4 separate regions of the Homo sapiens genome follow, and all the other regions are linked to region 1. The links are contacts of gene promoters, found by promoter capture Hi-C in blood cells and fetal thymus (Javierre and others, 2016). All regions are on one chromosome and are shown on one strand. The core of a region is centred on a gene start or on the middle of the fragment in contact, and the rest is flanking DNA. Distances in the headings are between cores, read along the strand shown.

Region 1 (3,655 bases), core at 476-2,975:
GTAAGTTTCAATTTATCTTTGTGTGTGTGTGTGTGTGTGTTTTGAGACAGATTTTTGCTCTGTTGCCCAGGTTGGAGTGTAGTGCCATGATCTTGGCTCACTGCAACCTCCGCTTCCCGGGTTCAAGTGATTCTCCTGCCTTGGCCTCTGGAGTAGCTGGGATTACAGGCACATGCCACCATGCCTGGCTAAGTTTTGTATTTTTAGTAGATACAGGGTTTCACCATTTTCCCCAGGCTAGTCTTGAACTCCTGACCTCAGGTGATCCACCCACCTCGGCCTCCCAAAGTACTAGGATTACAGGCATGAGCCACCGTGCCCGGCCCAATTTATATTTTTCTTTTGTTGCTTGCGCTTTTGATATCATAGCTAAGACAGCATTGCTAATCCAAAGTCATGAAGATTTTCTCCTGTGTTTTTCCCTTAGAATTTTATAGTTTTAGCTTTATAGTTTAGCTCTCTAAATGTAAAATTTAGAGATCTTAAATCCATTTTGAGTTAATTTTTGCATATAGTATGAGGTGGGGATCCTACTAGATTATTTTGGGATGTCCAGTTTTCCCAGCAGCGTTTATTAAAAATATTATTCTTTTCCCATTGAATAGTCTTGGCACCCTGTTGAAAATCCAGTGACCATAAATGTAACGGTTTATTTCTGAGCTCTCAATTCTATTCCATTGATCTATGTTTATCGTTATGTCGGTACTACACTGTCTTGATTACTGTAGTTTTGTATTAAGTTTTAAAACTAGGAAGCGTGAGTCCACTGACTTCATTCTTTCTCAGAATCGTTTTGGATTTTCTAGGTCTCTTGCATTTCCACATGAATTTTAGGATCAGCTTGTCAATTTCTGAAAAAAAAAAAAGTCGGGATTTTGATCCCTATCAAAATCCATTGTGTTGAATTGTAGGTTGCTTTAGGAAATATTGCCATCTTCACAATATTGTCTCCTAATCCATGAACATGGGAGGCTTTTCCACTCATTTAGGTCTTTTAACATTTCTTTCAAAGAGGTTTTGCAATTTTTATTGTACAAATATTGCATTCCTCTAATTTCTTCGAGGGCCTATGTGGGTTCTGTTTTAGTAGGGTGTTCTGCATATAAGACCAAGCATCAGTCCGGGGTCGTGGGGGGAGGGGGTCTTCTCTGTTCTGAGGCCATCATGGCAGGTGGCGTACCTCACTCAATCTCTGTTAGCTTATTTGTAAAATTGAGCAGATTAGGCATCTAAAGGATTTCCTCTAAGGTTCCTTTCCAGGTTGGCAAATTACAACTTGCATTATTGGCTGTCTTTTAAATATGTACGTTCCACCACTCCCAGTTCCCTGGCTCAGCCTGTGGCTGCAGTGCCACAGGGATCCTAGGTGCACAGTGTTGAGGAGTTGACGACTCAACACTTGGCTGGGAAATCGAAATGTCTTTGATGTGAGTTCTGTAGGTAGTGGCAGTTTCCTCTGCTCTCAACCAAATTCGTTTACAAGCCTCCTTTACTCTTAGGTCACAGGTGGCTTTTCTGGCTTTGACCTGAGCGGTGAGTATCCAGAGAGGAGAACGATCTAATTAATTTCTGTCCTGGCGCCTGGAGGGTTCGAAGATCCCAGGCTCCCGTTCCCGCCGCCTGGGTGGGAGCCCGGGAACGCCTCTCCCATTCCCCGCCCGCGAAGTTTGCAGCGCGCCTCGCGCGGGAGAGACGCCGTCTGCTGGCGCGCGGCTGAGCGCTGTCAGTTCCTGATCCGGCTGGTGCCCGCTCCAGCCGCGGCAGGTTCCAGAGCTGAGAGGCCACCCCCACGCCGCGGGCTTCCAGCGCGTGGAGCAAGGGGAGCGGCCCCGGCGCCGCCCATATCCCCGGCTGCGCTAGTCCTGGCGCTGCAGGTCCGGGAGGCGCAGGCGGAGAGCGGCGGTGCCCCCGAGCCCCTCTGCGGACGGCTCAGGCGGGAGGACCCCGCGCGGCTGGATGGCGGCGGCCGCGCGGCCTCGGGGTCGGGCACTGGGGCCAGTACTGCCGCCGACGCCGCTGCTCCTGCTGGTACTGCGGGTGCTGCCAGCCTGCGGGGCGACCGCTCGGGATCCCGGGGCCGCGGCCGGGCTCAGCCTTCACCCGACTTACTTCAACCTGGCCGAGGCGGCGAGGATTTGGGCCACCGCCACCTGCGGGGAGAGGGGACCCGGCGAGGGGAGGCCCCAGCCCGAGCTCTACTGCAAGTTGGTCGGGGGCCCCACCGCCCCAGGCAGCGGCCACACCATCCAGGTGAGGGCCTCGGAGAGAGCCGGGGTGGGCGCGCCTTTTCCTTCCCGCGCCGGCCAGACACCCGGAGAAGGGATCGGGCCCTTTCCTCACGCGCGCTAGTGGCTCCGGGCGACTGGGAAGGGCAGCCCCCATCCCCGCGCGCGAGGGCCCACGACCCAGGAGCGATCTCGTGGAAGCACCGCACCGGCACCACCGGCCCGAGGCGAGGAGGGGGAGCACGCGAGGTGACATGAGGCTGTGGTCAGGTTCGGGCTGGTGGAGGGGAAAGTGTGAGGCTGCGCTCTAAGAGATGCAGGCGCCTCGGCCCTTCCCGCCTCCGTCACCCACGGAGCGTCCCGCCAGGCTTGAGTCCTCGAGGGTTCAGGGGCGCCTCCTGCCCCACCTCCCGGGCCTTATTCGGAGAAGTCGGTGGCAATTACCTTCTGTGGTGTATTTTAAGAGAGAATTTTTAGGTTATAACAGCGGTATCACTCTAATGTTACTGAAAAGATTCACTTCACTGCACTGCCTGAAGTGCCACCATCCAGTCATTGGGGGCGAATGAGACCTTAGGCGGACAGAGATAGAAAGGCTCTCAGAGATCCGAGCCTCACCGCGAACACCCGGGGCAAACGACATTGCGGTGCATGTTAAGCAGCATCTTGCAGTGCCTGGCCCTTACTCACAGGTCTCAGCCAGGCAAGAGTGCAGTGGTGCGATCACGGCTCACGGCAGCCTCGAACTCCTGGGCTCAAGGGATCCTCCCGCCTCAGCCTTGGGCGTAGCTGGGACTACAGGCGTGCCCCCCCGTGCCTGGCAATTTTTTTTTTTTTTTTTTGAGACAGAGTCTCGCACTGTCGCCGGGGCTGAAATGCAATGGTGCGATCTCGGCTCACTGCAACCTCAGGCCTGGCAATTATTTATTTATTTATTTATTTATTTATTTATTTATTTATTTATTTATTTTTCTGTAGAGACAGAGTCTGGCTATTTTGCCCAAGCTGGTCTCAAACTCTTAGCCTCAAGCTGTCCTTCTGTCTTGACCTCCCAAAGGGGCAGGAGAATTTGAATCCAGTCCTGACTTCAAATCCTGGACACTAAGCCCAAATTGCCTCCTTCTTCTGCAAAGTATTGTTGAGGAACAGGAAGTGGGAAGAGGGAGCGATTTTGGAGCTTGGGTTCTAAAAGAGCAAGGTTATCATTGGGTGTCTAGATTAGTGTTTTAGAAACTCTTTTGACCATGCACTTCCATAAATGACAAGTTGTTGAACATCTAGTGCCATATGTGCTTATTTACTTATAAACTACATGCATGTATTATATTGATATGTGTTGTGCATATTTTAAAACATGCAAAAACAGAAATCTAAAAGACAAAATAACAATGATGAAAATATTTTTACCATATTTATATATTATCTATATT
Region 2 (3,655 bases), core at 655-3,154, 460 kb after region 1:
GCTAGACATAAAGGTTCTCCATGTCCCCACCAGATTAGATAGATACAGAGTGTGGACACAAAGGTTCTCCAAGGCCCCACCAGAGTAGCTAGATACAGAGTGTCGATTGGTGCATTCACAAACCCTGAGCTAGACACAGGGTGCTGATTGGTGCGTTTACAAACCTTGAGCTAGATACAGAGTGCCGATTGGTGTATTTACAATCCCTGAGCTAGACATAAAGGTTCTCTACGGCCCCACCAGAGTATCTAGATACAGAGTGTTGATTGGTGCATTCACAGACCCTGAGCTAGACACAGGGTGCTGATTGGTGTTTACAAACCTTGAGCTAGATAGAGAGTGCCGATTGGTGTACTTACAATCCCTGGGCTAGACATAAAGGTTCTCCACGTCCCCACCAGACTCAGGAGTCCAGCTGGCTTCACCCAGTGGATCCTGCACTGGGGACTGCAGGTGGAGCTGCCTGCCAGTCCTGGTGCCGTGCGCCTGCACTCCTCAGCCCTTGGGTGGTCGATGGGACTGGGTGCTGTGGAGCAGGGGGCGGTGCTCATCGGGGAGGCTCGGGCCGCACAGGAGTCCACGGAGTGGGTGGGAGGCTCAGGCATGGCGGGCTGCAGGTCCCGAGCCCTGCCCCGCAGGAAGGCAGCTAAGGCCCGGCGAGAAATCAAGCACAGCGCCGGTGGGCTGGCACTGCTGGGGGACCCAGTACACCCTATGCAGCCACTGGCCTGGGTGCTAAGCCCCTCATTGCCCGGGGCTGGCAGGGCCGGCCCGCTGCTCGGAATGCGGGGCCCGCCAAGCCCATGCCCACTCGGAACTCCAGCTGGCCCGCAAGCGCGGCGCGCAGCCCCGGTTCCCGCTGGCGCCTCTCCCTCCACACCTGCCTGCAAGCTGAGGGAGCCGGCTCTGGCCTTGGCCAGCCCAGAAAGGGGCTCCCACAGTGCAGCGGTGGGCTGAAGGGCTCAAGTGCCGCCAAAGTGGGAGCCCAGGCAGAGGAGGCGCCAAGAGCGAGCAAGGGCTCTGAGGACTGCAGCACGCTGTCACTTCTCAATGGGGTGAGGGAGACAGAAATAGACCCGGAAGAGAAGAGGGAAGGACAAAGCCAAAGAGATGCCAAACTGCATTTGGTGTTGCTCACTGTGGCCCAGAGAAGTTTGATGGCAGTGCTGGAGAACCAAGAGGAGAAGCAAGGCAAAGGGGCATGGCGTGGGAGAGATTACCTAGGATAGGCTGAATGGCTGTTCTCCCTCAAACTGGCCATGCCCTCTTTTGCTTTCCACCTCCTACAGTCCAAATTACTAGCCACTTTCACACGTTTTCCTTATTTCTAAAGCTTAACCAAAATTACCTAAAAGCCACTGTACCCCATACATATTTCAGTCACTGTGCTGACTACATTGTCATATAATCAATCATCTGCCTGTATCCTTAATCAGAATGAGATCTTTAGGAAGTCTTATTCCTCTTTGATAGATGGTGCAACTAATGTTTGTTGAATGAAGAAAGAATGGATGGAAGGGCAAGGAGGAAGAGGGGAGAAACTAAACCACCTACTTTATAGTCTCTGGTATTCTCATTCCAATCAGTTCAATACAGACTAGTTGGAATCTTTTGTTTTAAATTCTTAAAAGATTACGTACCATACATATTCCTGACTTTAAGCACTCTCTTTGAGCTTCCCACCTCCCACCTCCAGTTTTTTTGTTTTTTTGTTTTTTGTTTTTTTTTTTTTTTGAGACGGAGTCTCACTCTGGCCCCAGGCTGGAGTGCAGTAGTGAGATCTCAGCTCACTGCAAGCTCCGCCTCCCGGGTTCACGCCATTCTCCTGCCTCAGCCTCCCGAATAGCTGGGACTACAGGCGCCCGCCACCACGCCCGGCTAATTTTTTGTATTTTTAGTAGAGACAGGGTTTCACCGTGTTAGCCAGGATGGCCCACCTCCAATTCTTATACAGCCTCTCGTATCTCTTGTTAGGCCCTGCTGCTTATACACTTGTGGTCTTTGATACCTTTCAGATTTCCCATTCCATGCCAGAATATGTCCTTTTCCTTATGCTTCTTGGGCAGTTATGTACTTCAGTACCCTGAATCTCCATGAGTTGTGCCTATTTAAAAAAATACCATATGCTTGGAATTTATCTCTTTATCTTACTGGTTTCATGGAAAATCAGGATTCTGCAATGAATTTTAAAGTTAGCCAATTTGAGTCATTTTATTATACTTAAAAAGGAACTTTTTTACAAGAAGGAATGCCTTTAGTTATGTTCCTAATTCTCAGTGTGTATAGTTTTGTCAGCTTAAGTAGAACCAGATCACCAAAGTCATAGTGGGTTAATCTTCATAAGGTTGAAAGATCAACCTTTAGCAAACCTAGTTTGCAACTTGAAGAAATTCTGTCTTATACAACCGACATAATCTCAAGGTTACAAGTCAGCGACTGTTGTAAGTATTTAAAGCTAACCTTAAAACATTAGAGAAAAGCTTTTTACCCTTCTTAATAAACAGATAATGACATGAACTCAATATAGATTTACATTATATGTGTATAGTAACTAGTAAGTATATATTTGCCAGCATTCTTTCATGTATTCCAAACAAAGCCAAATGGTTGATCTAGTGTTGGCTTTTTTTTTTTTTTTTTTTAAAGACAGAGTCTAGCTTTGTTGCCCAAGCTGGAGTGCAGTGGCACAATCTCAGCTCACTGCAACCTCTACCTCCCGGGCTCAAGCAATTCTCCTGCCTCAGCTTCCTGAGTACCTGGGATTACAGGCATGTGCCACTGTGTCTGGCTTATTTTTGTATTTTTAGTAGAGACAGAATTTCACTATGTTGGCTGGGCTGGTCTCGAACTCCTGGCCTCAAGTGATCTGCCTGCCTCAGCCTCCCAAAGTGCTGGGATTATACGCATGAGCCATCGTGCCTGACCTAGTGTTTGCATTTGCAAAAACACTATAAAAGTTTAAGGCATCTGGTCTCAGTTTTTAATTATGAAAAAGTCCATAAGTATATAACACACACATATAAAGAAAAAACATCCTGTATTTTACCACCCAGTTTAGGAAATAGCCAATTTAATTTTAATCAAAGCTGAATTAAAGATATTTGAGATTTATATTTTTAATTTGATATCACATTTTCAAAACTTTTCTGTATCACTTTTTAAATGGGTACTGATTCACTCCTTCCCCATTTATATGTGATTTAGAGTTTATTCAGTGCTTTCAGATGCATTATTTCACTTAGTGTCCACAGAAACTCCATGAAGTCAGAGTTATAATCCCCATTTTGCAAGTGAGGAGGCCTGAAGCTTGGAACAGTTGACTTGGTCATGCAGCTATTAAATCTCAGAACCAGGACTAGAACCTAGGTTTTCTCATTAACTTTTTTACTATGAGAAAGTTGCAGGGAAGAAAACAATATCATACATTCCCTGGTAAATTGTTAAGGATTCATAATTATAAATGCTTTACCTTTCCAGAATGGTGGTTATAAGGGATGTTTTTGTTTAGCAGGGGACTTCCAGAGACAAAAATATTGAGCTTTTTTAACATTTAAAAAATTAATTACATTTTAATCTTCTAGACGTAATTTCAGGTACCATGAACCTGTGAGGGAGACACTTTTAATTAAAAGAGCAAGTGGTCCTTTCCAGAGTT
Region 3 (3,655 bases), core at 636-3,135, 430 kb after region 1:
AAATGTAATCTGGATCCTCAGGGAATTTCTGAAGTGTCGGGAGAGGAGATTTGATGAGCAGAAGCAATTGGAGAACAGCATTCTAGGGTATAGAAGCAAACTATCAACTGTATGGTGAAGAGCTCACTGAGAACTGGGCTAATGGAGCGGCTTCGTGCATTCACTCAGTAGCGATTGAGAGACTTCTGGGCCAGGGCTGGGCGCACACGGGGATGAAATATGGTCCCTTCCCTTTCCACACCTGTGTGGTAACAAGGGGCTAGATTAGCAAACAATTAAAATCCAACACGTCCTACTGTACAAGTGTGAGAGAACGCTGGAGGAGAAGGCGGCGCGAGCTGAGCCCTTACCACCTGAGTGAAGGAGAAGGTGGGTGTGAGCTGAGCCCTTAACACCTGAGCAAAGGAGAGAACGCTGGAGGAGAAGGCGGCGCGAGCTGAGCCCTTACCACCTGAGCAAGGAGAGGTTCTCTGTGCTTAGGTTAATTTCACAGCTGTTTGGGGGCAAATTGGAGTATTTTCCTAGCAATCTTTAAACCACTGTCTTCTATATTGCTTAACCTGTTTAAAATAACTATGAAGGAAAAAGATGCTTTTGAATTATGATGATTGTAATGTTATCGACAGATCTTAGCTGGTAATTCTGTTTTCCTTTTCTCCTTAGTGTCAAATCAACAGTGCCTTGACATCTTTCCACACTGCTTTGGAACTTGCAGTAGACCAGAGAGAAATTCAACATGTCTGTCTGTATGAAATTGGTAAATATGAAATGTCTGTCCAGCCTCTTGTTAAGAAGTAGTATTAATGCAGTATTTTAGCTTTCATGCCATTCAGTGTGTGTCTACAAAATGCTTGGTGCCTTCTGTAGTAAGAAGGACTTCAGTTATTCCCGTAGCACATGCAATGATACTTCTCTCTGATTCTCATTACGTTTTTATAACATTTTTTCTTTACAGCATTTTGATTTTTTAGGATAATAGGTGATGTTAAATGAATTGATTAAATGACCAGAAATACCTTATTGGACTGCATTAGAATTCAAAGCTCTTTGTTCCTCCTTCCCACTAATGTTTACTTGAGAAGAAAAATAGGAGACAGGAGATAGTTGGACTGAAGTCCCAGTGTTTTTCACCAACTAGCTCTGAGACCTTGGACAAGTTGCCCAAACCTTCCTAGCCACATAGTTGCCATTGGAGTTAAGGTGCCTCCCCTTGTAGCAGCTGTGAGGTTTAGATGACATGACGTGTGAAACCTCATGCAGGGGGCCTGGCACGGAAGGCCCTCCATACATGTTAGCTGCCACCTTCTGCTTCTCCCTTACTGGAGAGACAGTCACCAACAAACCTGGAAGGATTTATCTGCCCGAGATTTTCCCCATTCTCCTCCAGAATTGTTGCTATGGGTCTTTGCTGACTGCACTAAAACTCTGATCCTATTACATTAGTAATTGCAAAATCTTTCTGTGTAACAGTTTCTCCATTGTGCTGGGAAGAGTAAACACAACTTTGAACTTGAAACAAAAAAAAATTTTAAATAAGGGACTCAGACTTTTCAGAGTTTCAGCGTAGCTAATGCTACAAGGTCACACCATGTAGCACATAAAAAGGAATGACAGAGGCAAAGAGAAAGGAGAAATGATGAGATAGTGATGAGACTCCAAAGGGAAATTGAGACTTAAAAAGCTTTCTGCAGAGGGACAGGGAAGTGGAGACAGAATGCTCAGGGAAGCAGTTGACACCTGTCAGTTTGGGGGGTCAGGCCCTGTGCTGCCTGCCACTTGCTTTGCCTGCTGTGGACACAATTGTCTTCCTGAATCCTTTTAAGGAAAACTGAAAACCAAAAGATTGCGAACTGCCCAATAAACAATATTACGTTTTAAATGCCTGTTGTGGTTTAAAAAGAGGAAATGATGTATAATCCAGTGGAAAATGTGTTTTTGTGTCTTCTACACTCTGCTGGAGCTCTGCTTAGTAGCCACAATATAGAATGAAATGTGCTTCAAAGAACTTGAATGAAAAACTCTAGCTTTGGTGGCCTTTTGTTGGTGCATCATTTCAAGTCCTATGACAGGATAGGATGTTAGAGCAGAAGGAAGCTTAGAAATCACCCAACCCAGGCCTTAGGAAGGTTAACTCAGGAGTTGGTAGTAACTCGGGCTTCCGATTCAGGCTCGGAAGCTTGAGTTGGTACTTTTTCCTGAGTTATTCCTGACTTATTCCTGAGTTATTCCTGACTTATTTCTGAGTTATTCCTTATTTATTCCTGAATTATTCCTGACTTATTCCTGAGTCAGTGCTTCCTTCCATCTCTATTTTGTATTTAATTCCAATCTTTCTCCGCTATCTATGCTAGGATAAAAATAATCAGCCCAGGCCGGGCACGGTGGCCCACGCCTGTAATCCTAGTCCTTTGGGAGGCTGAGAGGGGCAGATCGCCTAAAGCCAGGACTTCGAGACCAGCCAGGTCAGCATGGTGAAACCCCGTCTTTACCAAAAATACAAAAATTAGCCAGGCGTGGTAGTGGGCGCCTATAATCTCAGCTACTCAGCAGGCTGAGGCGGGCGGGAGAGTGGCTTGAACTCAGGAGGCAGAGGTTGCAGTGACCTGAGATCCCACCACTGCACTCCAGCCTGGGTGACAGAGTGAGAGTGTGTTTCCAAAAAAAGCCCAAATTTTTACTCTAAACTATGTCAATATCACATCCCATAGAATTTGACAGTGAATTTTCTGAAGTGTATATCTCACACACTCTTCCTCCCACGGTTTAAATGGCAAGTCTCAGTTTACACAATTACTTAGTGATGCACCTGATAACAGAATATTTTTTATGGAGGCAGTATCATGTAAAGGAAAGTGTGTTGGATTTTGATCCACAGTTATTCCTTCTTAGTTGTATGGCTTCAGCAGGTAGCTACCTCTTGATACCTTAGTTTTTTTTTTTTTTTTTTTTTTTTAAGACAGGGTCTCACTGTGTCATCCAGGCTGGAGTGCAGTGGTGCAGTCTCAGCTCACTGCAGCCCAGACCTCCCCGGCTCAGGTGATCCTCCCACCCCAGTCTCCCAAGTAGCTGGAATTACAGGCGTGCACCACCACACCTGGCTAATTTTTTATAGAGATGGGGTTTCACCGTGTTGCCTAAGCTGGTCTGGATCTCTTGGGCTCAAGCGATCCTCCCACCTCAGCCTCCCAGAGTGCTAGGATTACAGGCATAGGATTAGTCCTTGCTAATACAAGGACACTATTAGCCCCCTTTGCAAGGTTGTCATAAGGATTAGAGAGCGTTACATGAAGTGCTTACCACAGCATTGGCACACATTAGAGGCTCAGGTGATGGGGGCTACTGTGATGAAAAGTGGGAATAAAATCCTTTACATTTTAGTTGCTGCAGTTCCTTACTAGAATGCCCATTTAACTGTTTCGATCCAGGAAGGTGGGGTTCTTTCACTACCAGTGTGCTGAGGGAAGGTAGGGAAATGCCTAATTTCTCATTGGCTTGCTGTCTAGATCTTATAAAGTTTTGAGAATGAGTGGGCCAAGCACGGTGGCTCACACCTGTAATCCCAGCACTTTGGGAGGCTGAGGTGGGCAGATCACTTGAGGTCAGGAGTTCAAGACCAGCCTAGCCAACATGGCGAAACCCCATCTCTACTAAAAAT
Region 4 (3,655 bases), core at 621-3,120, 400 kb after region 1:
TAACATTTTTAAAAATACTGCTGAAAAGATATCCATGTTTTGTATCAGAACTCTCAGTATTGTTAAGATGGCAGTACTTTCCTAATTGAGCTACAGATTGAATGCAGTGTCTGTCACAATCACAGCATTTTATTTTTTTTTGCAGAGATTAACAAACTGATCCTAAACTCAAGGGCCCCAAAATAGCCAAAATAATATTGAGAAAGAAGGAAAAAATGGAAAGTGGAAAAAGAAAACTCCACTTCCTACTCTCAAAACTTACTACAAAGTAATCAAGACAGTGTGGTACGAGCATAAGAATAGACATATGGATCAGTGAGAATTGTGAAATAAATCTTACATTTATGATTAATTTACTTTTTTTTTTTTTTTTTTTTTTTTTTGGAGACAGAGTCTTGCTCTGTCACCCAGGCTGGAGTGCAGTGGCATGATCTCAGCTCACTGCAACCTCCACCTCCCAGGTTCAAGCGATTCTCATGCCTCAGCCTACCAAGTAGCTGAGACTACAGGTGTGCGCCACCATGCCTGGCTAATTTTTGTATTTTTAGCGGAGATGGGGTTTCACCACGTTGGCCAGGCTGTTTTCGAACTCCTGACCTCAGGTTCTCTGTCCGCCTCGGCCTCCCGAAGTGCTGGGATTACAGGCGTAAGCCGCCACGCCCGGCCTTATGATCAATTTGCTTTGACATGGACATCAAGACACGTCAGTGGGCAAAGAATAGTCTTTTCAGCCAGGCACAGTAGCTCAATGCCTATAATCCCAGCACTCTGGGAGGCCAGGGCAGGCAGATTGCTTGAGCTCACAAGTTTGAGACCATCATGGGCTGTGTTGAAACCCCATCTCTACAAAAATTAGCCAGGTGTGGTAGTGCACATCTGTAGGCCCAGCTATTCAGGAGGCTGAGGTGGTAGGATGGCTTGAGCCCGGGGGATGGAGGTTGCAGTAATCAGAGATCATGCCACTGCACTCCAGCCTGGGTGACAAAGCCAGACCATGTGCTGGGACAACTGAGTATTCACAGATGCAAAAGAATGAAGTTGGACCCTTATACTATACAAGAAAATTAACTCAAAGCGGATCATAGACCTAAATGTAAGATCTAAAACTGTAGAACCCTTGGGTTAGGCCTTGGTTTCCTAGACATGACACTAAAAGCACAATGACAAAAGAATAAATAAATTGAACTACATCAAAATGAAACATTTGCGCTATAAACAATACAATCAAGAAAGTGAAAAGACAACCCATAGAATGGGAGAAAATATTTGCAAGTTATATATCTGATACGGGACTTGTATTCTGAATATGTAAAGAACTGTTACAACTCAATAATAAAAAGACAAGCCAATTTAAAAATGGACAATGGGGGCAGGCGCGGTGGCTCACGCCTGTAATCCCAGCACTTTGGGAAGCCAAGGCGGACAGATCACGAGGTCAGGAGATCGAGACCATCCTGGCTAACATGATGAAACCCTGTCTCTACTAAAAAAAAATGCAAAAAATTAGCCAGGTGTGGTAGCGGGCGCCTGTAGTCCCAGCTACTCGGGAGGCTGAGGCAGGAGAATGGTGTGAACCTTGAAGGCGGAGCTTGCAGTGAACCAAGATCGCATCACTGCACTCCAGCCTGGGTGACAGAGTGAGACTCAGTCTCAAAAAAAAAAAAAAAAAAAAAAAAAAAAAAAAATAATAATAATAGACAACGGATCTGAAGAAACATTTCTCCAAGGAAGATAGGCAGTATCATAAATCACTAAGGAAACAAATCAAAACCAAGTAAGCTACTGTTTCACACCCACCAAGCTAACTACAGTAGGCAAGACAGCCAATAGCAAGTGTGGGCAGGATGCAGAGTGATTGGAACCCTCATTCATTGCCAGTGAGAATGTGAAATGGTGTGGCTGCTCTGGACCCAGTTCAACAGTTCCTCAAAATGTCAAACTATATGAAACAGCAATTTCACTCCTAGGAATATGCACAAGAGAAATAAAAACACCACTCCATATTATTATCCATAATAGCCAAAAAGTGGCAACAGCTCAGATGTCTATCAACTGATGAATGGATAAACAACATGTGATACATTCATACAATGGAATATTATTCAGCAATAGAAAGGAATGAAGTACAGATACATACTATAGCATGGAGGAACCTTGAAAACATGTTATGTGTAAAAAGTCAGTCACAAAGACCATATACTATATGATTCCATTTATATGACATCTTTAGGACGGGTACATCTACAGAGGCAGAAAATAGATTATTGCTTGCTTCAGTGTGGAGGTAGGTGAGGGAACAGTGTGGAGTGACTGCTAATGGATACATGGTACATAGTTTCTTTGGGGGAATGAAAATATTTCAGGCAGAGCACAATGGCTCACACCTGTAATCTCAGCACTTTGGGAAGCTGAGGTGAGTGGACCAGTTGAGCCCAGAAGTTTGATACAAGCCTGGCAATGTGGCGAAACCCCATTTCTACAAAAAATTAGCTGGGCGCACAGCTGTAGTCCCAGCTCTTTGGAAGGCTGAGGTGGGAGGATCATCTGAGCCCAGGATGTTGAGCCTGTAGTGAGCCGTGAAGGCACGAGACCCTGTTTCAAAAATATGTATATTTTAAACTTAGATTGTAGTAGTAGTTGCATAGCTATAATATTACTCTATGAGTATTCTAAAGACTTATTAAATTGTACACTTTAAGTGGGTGAATTTTGTGATTTTTGAATTTTATCTCAATAAAGATGTTTTATAAAAGTATTGGCCGGGTGCAGTGGCTCACGCCTATAATCCCAGCACTTTGGGAGGCCGAGGCGGGCAGATCACGAGGTCAGGAGATCGAGACCATCCTGGCTAACATGGTGAAACCCCGTCTCTACTACAAATACAAAAAACTAGCTGGGCGTGGTGGCGGGCGCCTGTAGTCCCAGCTACTTGGGAGGCTGAGGCAGGAGAATGGCGTGAACCCAGGAGGCAGAGGTTGCAGTGAGCCTAGATCGTGCCACTGCACTCCAGCCTGGGTGACAGAGTGAGACTCTGTCTCAAAAAAAAAAAAAAAAGTATTGAGAGTGTGCATTTTCTGTATGATTTTATACAATCTCTTTTTCTTCGGATATAAGCTACTGATTAAACCAAGTTTGATGACTTTCAACTAAGATATACAGGCATACATCAGAGACATTGCGGGTTTGGTTCTAGACCACTGCACTAAAGCAAATATCACAATATAGTGAGTCACATGAATTTTTTGGTTTCCCAGTGCATATAAAAGTTAAGTTTACATTGCACTGTAGTCTGTTAAGTGTGCAGTAGCATTATGTCTAAAAATACAATGTGTATACCTTAATTAAAAAACTTTATTGCTAAAACTATCAATCATCTGAGCCTTCAGCAAGTCGTAATCTTTTGGCTGGTGGAGGGTGTTGCCTAGATGTCGATGGCTACTGGCTGATCAGGATGGTGGTTGCTGAAGGTGGGGGTGGCTGTGGCAATTTCTTGAAGTAAGGCAACAGTGAAGTTTACCCCGCCGATTGACTCTTCCTTTCACGAATGATTTCTCTGTAGAATGTGATGCTGTTTGATAGCATTTTACCTACAGTAGGACTTCTTTCAAAATTAAGTCAATTCTCTCAAACCTTACCACTGCCTTATCAACTAAGT

The links. Contacts are between HindIII fragments. The CHiCAGO score rates a contact against its expected background, and 5 or more counts as called.
Region 2: a fragment that was not itself captured here is called in contact with the fragment with the promoter of LAMA3 in region 1 in 2 of 17 cell types (activated CD4 T cells and total CD4 T cells); the score reaches 5.4 in activated CD4 T cells.
Region 3: a contact is called between a fragment that was not itself captured here and the fragment with the promoter of LAMA3 in region 1, in 1 of 17 cell types (naive CD4 T cells). The highest score is 6.6, in naive CD4 T cells.
Region 4: a fragment that was not itself captured here is called in contact with the fragment with the promoter of LAMA3 in region 1 in 1 of 17 cell types (naive CD8 T cells); the score reaches 5.3 in naive CD8 T cells.

The regions. Positions count from the first base shown.
Region 1 is chr18:23,687,728-23,691,382 of GRCh38, forward strand. LAMA3 (laminin subunit alpha 3) reads left to right here and starts at 1,726. Exons shown (of 75, transcript NM_198129.4): 1 at 1,726-2,250. The coding sequence starts at 1,957. RefSeq lists an enhancer at 1,085-1,634. The HindIII fragment of the contact is 9,125 bases long and covers 1-3,655 here.
Region 2 is chr18:24,149,065-24,152,719 of GRCh38, forward strand. The region is part of intron 3 of CABYR (calcium binding tyrosine phosphorylation regulated); the gene reads left to right. Among named protein-coding and RNA genes, the nearest start is that of CABYR, 12 kb to the left of the region's middle. The HindIII fragment of the contact is 1,147 bases long and covers 1,332-2,478 here.
Region 3 is chr18:24,113,891-24,117,545 of GRCh38, forward strand. TTC39C (tetratricopeptide repeat domain 39C) reads left to right here. Exons shown (of 14, transcript NM_001135993.2): 7 at 664-757. Among named protein-coding and RNA genes, the nearest start is that of CABYR, 23 kb to the right of the region's middle. The HindIII fragment of the contact is 413 bases long and covers 1,680-2,092 here.
Region 4 is chr18:24,090,441-24,094,095 of GRCh38, forward strand. The region is part of intron 6 of TTC39C (tetratricopeptide repeat domain 39C); the gene reads left to right. Among named protein-coding and RNA genes, the nearest start is that of CABYR, 47 kb to the right of the region's middle. The HindIII fragment of the contact is 5,261 bases long and covers 1-3,655 here.